Linked DNA regions of Homo sapiens: regions 1 and 2 are each linked to region 3. The links are contacts of gene promoters, found by promoter capture Hi-C in blood cells and fetal thymus (Javierre and others, 2016). All regions are on one chromosome and are shown on one strand. The core of a region is centred on a gene start or on the middle of the fragment in contact, and the rest is flanking DNA. Distances in the headings are between cores, read along the strand shown.

Evidence for each region. Contacts are between HindIII fragments. The CHiCAGO score rates a contact against its expected background, and 5 or more counts as called.
Region 1: a fragment that was not itself captured here is called in contact with the fragment with the promoter of GREM1 in region 3 in 4 of 17 cell types (naive B cells, M0 macrophages, M1 macrophages and 1 more); the score reaches 7.3 in naive B cells.
Region 2: a contact is called between a fragment that was not itself captured here and the fragment with the promoter of GREM1 in region 3, in 6 of 17 cell types (M2 macrophages, M1 macrophages, M0 macrophages and 3 more). The highest score is 11.0, in M2 macrophages.

What each region holds. Positions count from the first base shown.
Region 1 is chr15:33,014,107-33,017,913 of GRCh38, forward strand. All of the region lies in intron 6 of FMN1 (formin 1), which reads right to left. Among named protein-coding and RNA genes, the nearest start is that of FMN1, 180 kb to the right of the region's middle. The HindIII fragment of the contact is 1,589 bases long and covers 572-2,160 here.
Region 2 is chr15:32,986,588-32,990,779 of GRCh38, forward strand. All of the region lies in intron 7 of FMN1 (formin 1), which reads right to left. Among named protein-coding and RNA genes, the nearest start is that of FMN1, 210 kb to the right of the region's middle. The HindIII fragment of the contact is 3,894 bases long and covers 1-3,596 here.
Region 3 is chr15:32,716,517-32,720,782 of GRCh38, forward strand. GREM1 (gremlin 1, DAN family BMP antagonist) reads left to right here and starts at 1,488. Exons shown (of 2, transcript NM_013372.7): 1 at 1,488-1,645. GREM1-AS1 (GREM1 antisense RNA 1) reads right to left here and starts at 2,349. Exons shown (of 2, transcript NR_109767.1): 1 at 2,029-2,349; 2 at 1,585-1,848. RefSeq lists enhancers at 994-1,494, 1,632-2,210, 2,211-2,788. The HindIII fragment of the contact is 6,086 bases long and covers 1-4,266 here.

The DNA of each region.
Region 1 (3,807 bases), core at 116-2,615, 300 kb after region 3:
TGGGCAGCATGTAGAAGGAGGAAGCTAATGCCTTTACTACTGGCATTGGTGAATGCTCACTTTGAGAGTTCACAAGAGAGTAGTAAGAGAATATAAAGGTTACAGAATAATGTCCATGAGTCAAAACTAAGTTAGTGCTTTCCAAATGTGTCTTGTTAGTGGCAGCCCCCTGCCCCCAGATGCTTCTTGAGGCTTGCAGATGCCTGAGTGTGAGGATGGGGAGGCAGAGGTGTCAACTCAAGACCAAGGATGTGTGTATTTGTTAAAAAGAGAACTTGACCCTAGCATTGGTATTCAGTAGCTCTGGGACCTTATAAGTGTGTGAAAAGGAGGAACAGGAATTCTACATCAGGGTTGAAAAGGGCAGACTCATTTGAAGTCACATTAGCCCCTAATGGAAGTTAATAAATCAATTTAAATAATCTATTCCACAAGAAACAAGTCTAAAGAACGTCTTTTTGAAAACAATAATGTAGTCCATGAAAGACAGAGAAAGGAGTAAGGCTCCTAACTGGCAGGATTCAACATTTTGGAGGAAAAAAAAATGAAAGAACTTTCTCTGTACAAATAAAGCTTTCTTAGTCTAGTATTTAGCTAATTGGTTCCTTCCCTTTATGTTGCACAAACCTTCCTTTTTGATCAGTTCACAATAACAAAACATCCTTCCTGCCAGGTGTCATTACAAAGTTTGTGCCCTCCAATTTGTGAAGAGCAGAATTACAGATGATTCCACAAACACAGAAGGCATGCAGTAACCACTGCTGAAGTCCATCACTTACTAAATGAGTTTACCTAATTACATATGGGTACGGATAACATTATTGAGGGTTATTTTTCAGGAATAGTTCTAAGCACTTTACACAGATTAACTCCTGCCATCCTCACATCAAATTGAAAAGGTAGACCCTATCATATCGAGACTTACTTTACAGATGAGAAAACGCCTCAGGTTGAACAGCTTTCCTAAAACCACATGCTAGTTAAGTGCCAATAATATCATTCAGACCCAAAGAACGTGTGCTGGCTCTGCAGAGTTTTTGTTTATTCCCTTGTTTTCGTTCTTGCCGTTCTTTTGGTTACATAAGCAGCAGATGCAAACAAAACCCCAAGCCTCTGTAAACTTCAAAGTTGCTTGCTTTATCCTATTACCAGAATCACTCGTAAACTTGGGGTAACTTTTTTCATAATTCTGTAAAAGGGGAATGCTAATTTTAATCACAGGGAGGTTTGAAGAGCCAGGGGTCAGAGTGAATGGTGTGAATTTCAATGGCTGGCACCGACAAGTTCTGTGATTATGATTCGTCTGTCTTTTCTAAGGGAATTTCAGGGCCTGTAGTTACTAGTTTCTGGTTAAATCTGATTTTCATTTATGCGCTCTTTCTTACACATATATCCAAGCCTCCACCGCATCACACACGCACATGACATGGGCAAAACTGGATTATGTACAGTTAGGAAGTAGAAACTTTCTGAATTCTCCACTGAGTAGGAAACATGGATCTACTCCTACCCGCGGATCCTGATATGTCCGGCCTGTGCCTCTCACTGGCCTTTACCCACTACCTCACATTGTTGTATTTTCAAGTACATATGTGACTTAAAAAAAAAAATCATTCCTCTGAATTATACTTGGACGATACTCAATCAGTGCTTCCAAAACTTAGCACACACACCGGCAAGGTCATTTTTTGTAGGTATCTGAACTTTTTATTTTGACAGTTAAATGTTTTAATGTGCATTAGGGAAAAATTATCAAACACACACATAAAACCCGTGATTTCACTGATAATGCTTCCCAGATAGTGTTGATCGGAGTTTGGTCCCTGGACCAGGAGCATCAGCATCACCTGGAACATCTTAGAAATGCAAATTCTTTCCTCTACGGTGGATTTATTGACTTGGAATCTCTGAGGCTACTTTACCAAGCCTACCAAGTGATTATAATGCACAGCAAAGTTTGAGAACCACTGCTTTAATAAGGCTTATTTAAGCAAAAACAGTAAATTCATTAAAATAACAAATTAAATAATAGTAAAAATAGTATAAATATGTATCAAATTTCAAGAAGCTGGTGCATAAAGGATGACATTTGAAAAAATATGCTAATCACTGACAGATAAATACAAATTCAAACAAACTCATCCGTGAGTGAATGCACAAAGCTTCTCTGACCATTTCTAACATTGACAAAAATGGTCACAGTTCATGTAAGGCAGAGTCACAAGTCATTTATTCCAAAATCTAAGAATAAAAATCAAATGTGAGCTTTCATATTTAATAAGCTTATGAAACCAAAGTGTGCAGCCTGGTCTTGGGGCCCTGCGAGTCCTCTGTTTCCCTTCCAGATGCTTATAAACAATGCAGTCCTTAGTAACTGTGCAGTTTGAAGAAAGCATAACCGGTTTTGTGTCTGTCAGAAACAGTGGAGGTAGATTCAAAGGCAGTGAAGTAAAGAGAAAGTAGTCAACAGCTGCCAGCAGAGCTTTTTAACTGGGTGTCTCAGGCTAGCAGCTGGTGAGAGGCTGTTACCTGTAATGTTGATCCAACACCTTTTGTCAGCGGGCCTTCAACCAGCACACACGTCAGCAAAAGCACAGGAAGAGATCTAACTCCACTGTTTGATGATTGACTCCTGACAGTTTTTAAGCCTCACCCCTCCTTCTTCCCCGGTGTCCCACACACCTGGGCGATCTGATAGTAAAGGCTTTGACGCAGGAGATGTGAACCACACAGACCACTGCCCGCAGAAGCCATAGCCCAGTACTGTCTGTTGAACGCCATAAAAACCCCAAGCCAGTTTTCTACACTTTCTCTTGCAAGTCATTTTTGGACCAGCTTGAGAGGCCTGTCTCGCTTTCCCCAGAGGTCTCCTTATGTGAATAATAAATCTTTTCATGCCCTTGTGTGTGTGCAAACACATAATGCATCTGCGGTCATCAATATTGGCATCTCAATCAAATTTGGGGTGGCTGGGGTTCACCCTGCCTCTTCAAAAAGGATGAGGCCGTACCCTAGAACTTAAAGCATAATTTAAAAAAAAAAAAGTGGTTGCCAAGGCCTTGGGAGGAGGGAGGAATCAGTGGAGCGACAGGGGGTTTTTAGGACAGTGCAACTACTCTGTATGCTACTATAATAGTTGATACGGGTCATACATTATTCAAAATCCATCTTCAGTACAGAGCCAATTCTAATGTAAACTGTGGACTTTAGTTAATAATAATGTATTGGGTCAACTGTAACAAATGTACCACTCCAATGGAGAATGCTAATACTAAGGGAAAGTGTGGTATGTGGGCGCAGTAGACGGTGAGAGGGAACTCTACTTTCCGCTCAATTTTTCTATCAACCTAAAACTACTCTAAAAATAGTTGATTTTTTTTTTCAAAAAAGAAGTGAATTATCAGTGAGTCAACCTACTATGTTGTTCAATAACTTACAGAAAGGAGCCTAATTTCTATATCAGAAAAATAAAATATTGGACAATAACTGGGAGAAATCCCATGAATTTAGGAATTGTAACTGTCAACCTTTCCTCATTCAACACATAAGAATTTCTTTAGGCAAAAATATAAAAATGTCAGTATCAAAAGATGGGGGGAAACTTCTAATTCTCCAAGCCACTAGTTTCTTACCGCTATGGTTTGAATGTTTGTGTCCTACTAAAATCCATATGATGGGCTGGGTGCAGTGGCTCACGCCCGTAATCCCAGCACTTTGGGAGACTGAGGCGGACGGATTTCCTGAGGTCAGGAGTTCCAGACCAGCCTGGCCAACATGGCAAAACCTAGTCTCTACCAAAAATACAAA
Region 2 (4,192 bases), core at 400-2,899, 270 kb after region 3:
AATGCCTTAACCAGTTAAAATAATAAACGGAATTTGGCAGAACATTTGTTCTGATTACTAGATGTTTAATGATACTTGGAACATCAAGATGCATGTGGAATTACACTCTACTAAGATGAAGACAGAATAACTTGGAAAAGATCAGATCTCATTTTGACTTGATTCTCTTCTCCTGGAATATAGACAAACCACATTCTTTTCCTCCCCCACCTTAGATTATACTATATTACTTTTGATTGATATTCATCTCCATAATTTGTGCTTTTTGAAAGAATAATTGTTATAAGAATTACGTATTTCAGGTTTTCTCTAGTAATTGGAAGGTATGAATTTAAATCTGACTTATTTCCTAACTGATCAAACATGGACTATAATTTATGAAATATTTTCAAAATAAACATTTAACTATCCTATTCAAACTTGAAATGTCACTTCAATTTTAGTTTGACTGAGGGTTATAGATGGCTACATTTTTTTCTCCCAGGCAATTTTTCTATTTTAAATGTTATTAGCTGCCCATATTAATAATGTGAAAAGGCAGAGACAGGATAACCTTAAAACTCATACATCATTTTTTCTTAAGTGTTTCAAAGGTTAATACCTAACCATAAAGGTTAATGATACAAGGTCAGCTGTATAACATCCACATGAAACCACATGACCGCTGTAGCGTTTCATACCATTGACATGTTGCTGTTTTGTGGAATGTATTTGTCAGTTACAAGAGATGACATGCTTGTTTGGTGCCATGTACCCTTTATGAAAAAATGAACTGGCTCAAGTATCCATGCCAGTCATGTACTCCGAATAATTACAAACTACTTCACACTCTAAATATTTAGATCACTAGGAATTTCAACGTTAGACCATCACCTTTCCCCCGACTGCACATCAGAGCAGAAGGCTTTCTGACTGCCTGTCCTTGAACATAACACTAACACAACATATGAAACTGATTAGGAGGACTGAGGTGTTTGAAAGAAAAAAACTTTGATTTTTATAAAGATTGGCATGAAGATCATTCTTCTCAGTTGAAATTTACTTTGATAAAATACACCCCCTTCTCAACTGCAGTTGCCAAGTATAAAAACAAATGCCTACTTTCTTCTGAATCACTTTTTTATATTTGTCTCATGTATTTTTCAGATTTTCACATCAGTGTAACACAGGTAAGAATAAAAGCATAGAATTAAATCCGAATATTTACCTATGAAGAAACACTTAACAGGCCAGTACTAAAACTTGGAGCTCATAAAAGGGGAAACATGTCTTTCTGTCGTTGAGTATAATTTAGTTTCAAAAGATGGTTTTTTGGGTTTGCTATGCAAAATCCTCTAGCAACAGTCACAGTTTCTCAGTACTGGTGTTTTAAAGTTCTTTGCTTTGGGTAGTGCCTCGTTGCAGGTTTAGGAGAAAAAAATGTTAAAAGGTATTCCTGACAGCTGGCAGCCTGTCTCTCCAGTTTTTTTTTTTTTTTTTTTTTCTTTTTTTAGGTAATTAGGTTGCTAATAAGCAGGGAGTGAGTGATGCTGTTGGACTCCAATGTTTGATTCTAGGTCACAGTAGGACATAGTCAATCTGGACACTGACCCATAGCTCACAAATCAGAAAAAAATCATCTGAGAATTAGAAAATAATCTACCAAGCTCCTATTTGTAAACCCTCAATACAATTCTTAACCTTGCAGAGATAAAGCGTTGGGGAAGAGGAAGTATTTTACAACCTTTTAATCTTAAAAAACAATAAATTTGAAATTGAGCAAAGTATTTGAAAGAGGTGGCCTTACTTTCCTCCAACTGATTTATACATTCGTAACAGAAGCGTGTTTGAGTTTGTGTCATCTGAAGATTCTGCTCTTAAATATGCTACTTTAAACCTAAGACAGCATATTCTCAGTACAACTCACCATTATGAGTTGAGTGATGGTTTTTCTGCCCATCACTTAGACTGTAGTCAACACTTTATCTTTGGCAGAGCAATTTCCACATGGCATAAATGATGGGGCAATGGACTGGGAAGAGGCTCGACTTTCAGTCATGGTGCTTCTATCAGTTTCCTGCCTGCGTGGTCTTGAGCCCTCTTGTTGCTAACTAGAAGTAACCAGACGGTGAATCTTACAGGGTGGCCAACTTCCTTGGCTACAATAAACCCCGTTGTTGTTGTGATCATGTCACCTCCCTTTAATGTATTGAGAAAGTTGAGAACCATTAAGCTAGATTCTAAGACCAACTCTTTTACCCTTTAGCTCCCCATCTATAAAATGAACAGGTTTCCAAAATATCACAAATTCAAGTAAGTCTATGTTGCTTCCACTTAAGCTAACGCAAATCATCATGCAAATGTTGTCTAAACGCACAACATCTGATAAATGCACATTTAAGACAGTCAGAAACAGTAAATGTCATTCTCCCAGCAGAAAGTCATAAACTGTCAAAAATATCTTTTAAAAAACCTTCTGGAAACACAGTTTTTCCACTACAGTTTTCCTTTGTCTCTGAGTTTGAAAAATATTACCTGTGAAATCACTTTGGTTTACATCCAGTTTCCACTATAGGGGAAGAAAGGAAGACCAACCAGTGATTAATTTATAGACTAATGCATTACTGTGATGGCAGATTCAACTGTTTGTTGTTTAGTGAAAGTTTATGTCCGTCATGTACATGACACTGGGGATGGAAGGTAGGTGGAGGTACCTCTGCTTTCATAATTATAATGTGAGAACTAGTCTGCTAAGTGCCTAAGTCAATTCAAAATTTCCGAGGAGGAAGCCTTAGGGAATTAGAGATGGTTTCATGTATGATGAGGAACCCTTGCAGGGCACAAAGAATTGGCAAAGGTAAAATGATGATTGTGAGAAATCCAAGTGAAAGATAAAAGCATGCTGGAGGGAAAGTGTAGGGAAATAGCGGAAGAGAAAACCATAATAATTCCCCACCCTTTGTAGTCAAGTGCAGTTTAGCCCCTTCACCCGCCCCCCACCAAAAGAAAGAAAGCCAAGATAAATTGGAGGGTCTTAAATACCATGCTCAAGACTTTGAACTTAACTTGACAGACAGTAGTGAGCCACCAGAGGTGTTTTAAGAGACGGGCAACAACCTAAATAATCGATAAGGTGGGCTGAATACACGCAAGCTATGCTCAAGGCCTATGTTAGGATGATGGGAACAGGATGCCAAGCAGTGAGTATATATGAAACCACAGAGCCCAGATTAACATAATTTGGTAATCAACTAGATGTGAAGCAGAGGGTGCAGGAGTTGTCAAGGATGCATCTGAGGTTTTTGGCCTAGACTTTTAGTTTTAGGAGAACCATGACACCGTACATATACAGGGTAGCTAAGAAAGCAGATTGCTTTTTGTCATGTTTACATTGGGAGGGGAAGAGGAGGAGGATTCAGAAGGAGACAAGTAGATGAAAATAAAGATCCCTTTCTATGGTGGGCTTATAAAACTTTTTGGATGCTCTGGTTTTGGGAATTTTAAATTTGAGATACTAAAAATATTTCCCAGTGTAGCTTTCCACAAAAACTTATCTGTAACTCAGGAAGAAGTTTGAATTCAAATAAATAGGTCTGAAAAGCACTTACACAGAGATAAGCTTGTGGCAATAAGGGAAATCTCCAAGAGACAAAATATAAAAGGTCAGGTGACTAACCAGCCACAATTTGGCGTGCTGCAGAGGCAACACTGGGAGGGCAGCAAAGAAGATAGAGAAGCACACCGTGAGGAAGAAGAAAAAAACTGCAGAATTCGCTGTCCCAGATGTTGAGGGAGGAGTTCGAGGATGTCAACACTGACTCTCCAGGATCAGAGCAAAGAAAGAAAGACAGATAGGAGACAAGTAGCACAGGACAATTACTTCATCTGTTTCAGTAGAGTTGGAACGGAATTCAAGTGGTAAGATAATTTGCTACAAGTCATTAATGTTTAAGAATTTTGCCAGTGAGAGAAGGAATGGAAGGTCAAAGCAACAGTATGGTCAAGAGAAAGGATTTCTAATGTAAAGGATAGCTGAATTTATTACTAGAAATGGGGGAAAGCACCTGCTAAAAGAACAACTGTATTAGTCTGTCCTCACACTGCTGTAAAGAACTGCCCCAGACTGGGTAATTATAAGGAAAGAGGTTTAACCGACTCACAGTTACACATGCCTGTGGAGGCCTCAGGAAACTTACAGTCGTGGTGGAAGGGG
Region 3 (4,266 bases), core at 238-2,737:
CATGACTTAACAACAACTGATTGAGAATTGTAAAGTGCAGCCTCGAGTTCATGTGTAGAAACTGCCATCTGCACAAACAAAACATTGAGAGGACTAAGATTTTAAGGATACTAATGCAGACGTCCTTCTTGCTTCATTTATTTAAAAATATCTATTTCACGTTCCTAACAGCATCTAGTAGATGTTTCTTGCTTCTTCCCCCTAACGCCGGACTAAAGAGAAAAAAAAAATAGGCTGTTTTCTGGTCTGGTTTTGTTTTCCTAGTCAAGTACTTAAATTACGGGTGTTTCGTAAGTATCTTTTGATGGATTTCATTGTTTTGTTTATTTCGCGTTAGACAATACAGACACCTTCATATTTCCTTCTGTAGCAAATCTTTTTCAAAGTCTTCATTTGACGTGGCTGATGGAGCTGGTCTGCAGATCTTGCAGACGTGTTAATTTTTGCACGGACTTTAGCTTCAACACACAAAACTTACGGCCTCTTTGAGGAACCAATTTTTCAGGCTAAGAGAACAAATGAAAGTGTTCGCTCATCTTTCGAAAACTATTTATGTACTTGGTATCCGGAATGTGACATTGGTTTTACACGTCGGTAGGTTTTTGTCCTAAATTTCTGGGAAGTTACTTCCTCATCTAACGTTTTATTTTCCTGACTTATTCGTCTTTGATATGCTACAGAAAACCCCTCTCGCCCAGTGGCTGTTTTCTCTCTGTCTCTTAAGATAATTTAGGAACAGAAGCCTTGACTTTTGACGGTCATTTAGTTTTATTCTCCTCCCGTGACTCCCCTCTGTACACTCACAGGGGAGGCCGCCGGCATCTGGGCTGAAAGAACCCTTGGCGGGCGAGGAGAGCAGGGTGTCATGTTGGCGACAGGCTCCTGCTGGCGGCCAGCGAGCCCGCCAGGTTAACGGGGGCGCCGGGGTCAGCGCCCTCGAAGTTGGGGGCCTCGGGCGGGGCCGCCGGGGAGCCACGACGGCCGCTCGACCAGAGCATCCCGCAGTCCCGTTCCCTCCAGAGGGGAAGAATGGCCGAATCTGGCACGATCCCACGGAGATCTCGCTCTTCCCAGCGCAGTCTCCGCTACTGAGCGCGGGACCAACGCAGGCGATGCCGGGCGGCCGACAGGGAAAGCCCAGACCTGGGGCAGAGAAGGAATGAGGGGCCGCCAGCCGGGGGGATTTCCTCCCGCTCTTCCCTCTCCAACGGGAGCGGAAAATGTGATTTGCTGTGCATTCCAGGCGCGGTTCCCTGGGGTGACCTCTCCCAGCCGGCCCGGGCGGGGGGAGCAGACAAAGAGGCGAGGCGGGCGGAGAGGGGACCCCGCGGGGAAGCAGGAGGGGTGCGGGGGGCGGGGGCAGTACCGGGAAAGGGGGCGGATAGCGGGTCTGGCGGCGGCGGCGGCGCCTGGCCAATGGAGAGGCGCGGCCCCGGGCGCCGCGCTCTGCCGCCGGCATTTAAACGGGAGACGGCGCGATGCCTGGCACTCGGTGCGCCTTCCGCGGACCGGGCGACCCAGTGCACGGCCGCCGCGTCACTCTCGGTCCCGCTGACCCCGCGCCGAGCCCCGGCGGCTCTGGCCGCGGCCGCACTCAGCGCCACGCGTCGAAAGCGCAGGCCCCGAGGACCCGCCGCACTGACAGGTGAGCGCGGACGCACCCGGCAGGGATGTGAGTGGGCGGAGGGAAGAGGGCCGCAAACCAACCCAGGACCCGCTCAGTTCCACGCGCGGCAGCCCTCCGTGCGCGCAGGCTCGGGTGCGTTGTTCGCGGGGGTGAATTGTGAAGAACCATCGCGGGGTCCTTCCTGCTGAGGCCGCGGACACCGTGACCTCGCTGCTCTGGGTCTGCAGGGAAACGTAGGAAAAAAAGTTGTCAGGAGCGGGCAGGATGACCCCCACATCCCGTTTCCACCTCCCGGAGGCCCCCGAACACGCTCCTGGTGCTGGTGGCAGCAGCGCCTGGCAGACGCGCCCGCTTAGCGAGGGCGCGAAGTCCAGGCCGCCAGAGCGCAGGAGCATCCGGACCTGCTAGTCGGCCGCTGACTGCGCGGCGAGTTGCCTTGAGAGGGTCCCATGTGCTTGGGGCGCCGCGCTGGGTCTGGGGGCGTCTTGGGGCGCCCATTGGAGTCCGCGGGTTGGAGCATCCGGAGAATCCATGATGTGTGCATTTGCCGATCCCCGAGGTGAGATGGAGACTGGCAAGGGCAGAGCCGCTGTGTTCAGCCACAGCGGAAAACCGAACGGTGGGTAATCCGACAGCTGCGGTGCGGGGCGCGGCCCTGGCCGCGGGGTCCAGCGAACCCGCAGTGCTCACAAGGCAGACACCACACGCGCTCGCGGACCGGCCACGCACTCGCGGGCGCTCGCTTCTCTACTCCAGCCTCTTCCCCGCCCCGCGCACGCCCGGGCTGAATGGTAGACGTTCTGGCGCCGGGCAGCGGCCACCGGCTGGTTCCCACTTCCGCGCGCACCCCTTAAACTGTGTTCTAGAGGCCCCAGCCTCGCCTTGCAGCGCCTCACTAGCTCCTGAGGACTAGGGACTGGCGGCTGAGGCGGGTTGGCGGCTGCAACGAGCTGGGCGTCTTTCGTTCTCTCTCGCTGCCTGGCTGGCTCCGCTGGCCCCTCCACAGCTTGCGGAGCAAGGCCATAGCAGGGGAGTGGGAGGTATATTGGGGCTGTCACCTCCTTGCTGGCCGGAGTTATTTGTAGACTACAGACTCCGGAAGAACAGACGCGCCACCGCTCTCGCTTGGCATTGCCTTCGGATCGCAGCTCCTCCTTGGGGGTGCCCCAGCTTGGCGTTTATTTGCCTGCGCCAGGCTCTGGCGACGGTCACCGGGCCAGGCGGGGAGGGACGGACGGCAGGTGACCAGCCTCTGCTGTGAAGAAATTCCTGCGCGCCCGGAGCTGTCCCTAATGCATTCCCGGGTCGAATCCGTCTACTGCCTTCCCCTCCTCGACCGACTCCGAATCTCGGCTCTTATAGACAGAAATACAGCCTCAGCGTTAGGGGTTAAAATCCCCCTCTTAAACGGTCCGAGGGCAGAGAGGTGACCACCGATAGGTAATTGGATCTCCTGCTGGAAAGAGCAAATCTGAGCGGTGTGCGCGTCTGTTTATGTTCCCCTTCGAGATGGTGCCAGGACACGAACTGATTAAAACAATCTATTGTGTTAAGTGGGTCACTAGGGTTTTAAGCTGTCCCAGGGACCCCAGAGTAGTGGCTTCCTTCTGGCTGTACACACAAGTTAAATAAATAGCGTAGAAGAGGTTAAGATAACCCCATTCTAGGGTGAGGAGTCCTCTTTCATCCCTAGGGCTTCCCCCTCCCCTTTTCTCTTTTTTTGGAAGGAGGGGGAGCATGAGAGTCTTGAGGGGGGGATGTACTTTTCAAAGCAAGGAGGGAAAGATCTTAAGAAAACTATATATTCTCACTGCCCCCCAAGCCAAGTCTATAACAGTAGGTGATTTGATTACTATCTCTGGATAAATGGCACTGTCAAATTGTTAATATTAACTATTTCAGGGATTTTTAGCAGGGTAGTGGCAGTATGTGTGCGTGTGTGTGTGTGTGTCTGTGTGTGTGTGTTTAACCTCCAGGTCATTGTAGGAATTAGAGTCTTTTGTAAACTTTGTAATTTCACAGGTTTCCTATTTTCTTAAAAGTTCATTTTTAGTGAAATGTTTTGGTAACCCACGCTCTGTAGGAAATCCAGGTTGGCTAATGCGGTCTTTATGTGAGTAGTTACACAGGGAAGGATAAAAACCTTTTATGTCCTACATCTCTGAATGAGGGCTGCCTACCCTGTCTTTGAAACTAAGCCGAAGATGCCTTCAGTCTGAATGGTCAAGTATTAAAAGTGATAAAATGCAAAGAAATTTCATGCCGCAGACACCTCCCCCAAGAACTGCTTGTTGACAGCAAAGCTGTGGAACATGTTCCACAACAGAGAGTAAAGGACAGCCAGGAAATATAAACCTTTTATGTAAAGGAAAGGCAGGTGGGGGACAGTGGTTAGGGGAGGTGACTGCAGCCTCTAACCAAAAGGCAACCATCAGGCAAGTGCTACCAGCCCGTGTCTTCGATCTGCAAGGAATTTTCTTTAGTTTTAACATATGCTCTTAGAAATTCAAAGTACAACAGGAATTCCTGGGACAAGAGAAATCTTTTTATTCACATGTGAACATGAAGATACAAAATAGATAATTATTTTATTTATAGCACTCTTCAAATTGTATTGCATTAGAAAACATATCCATTGA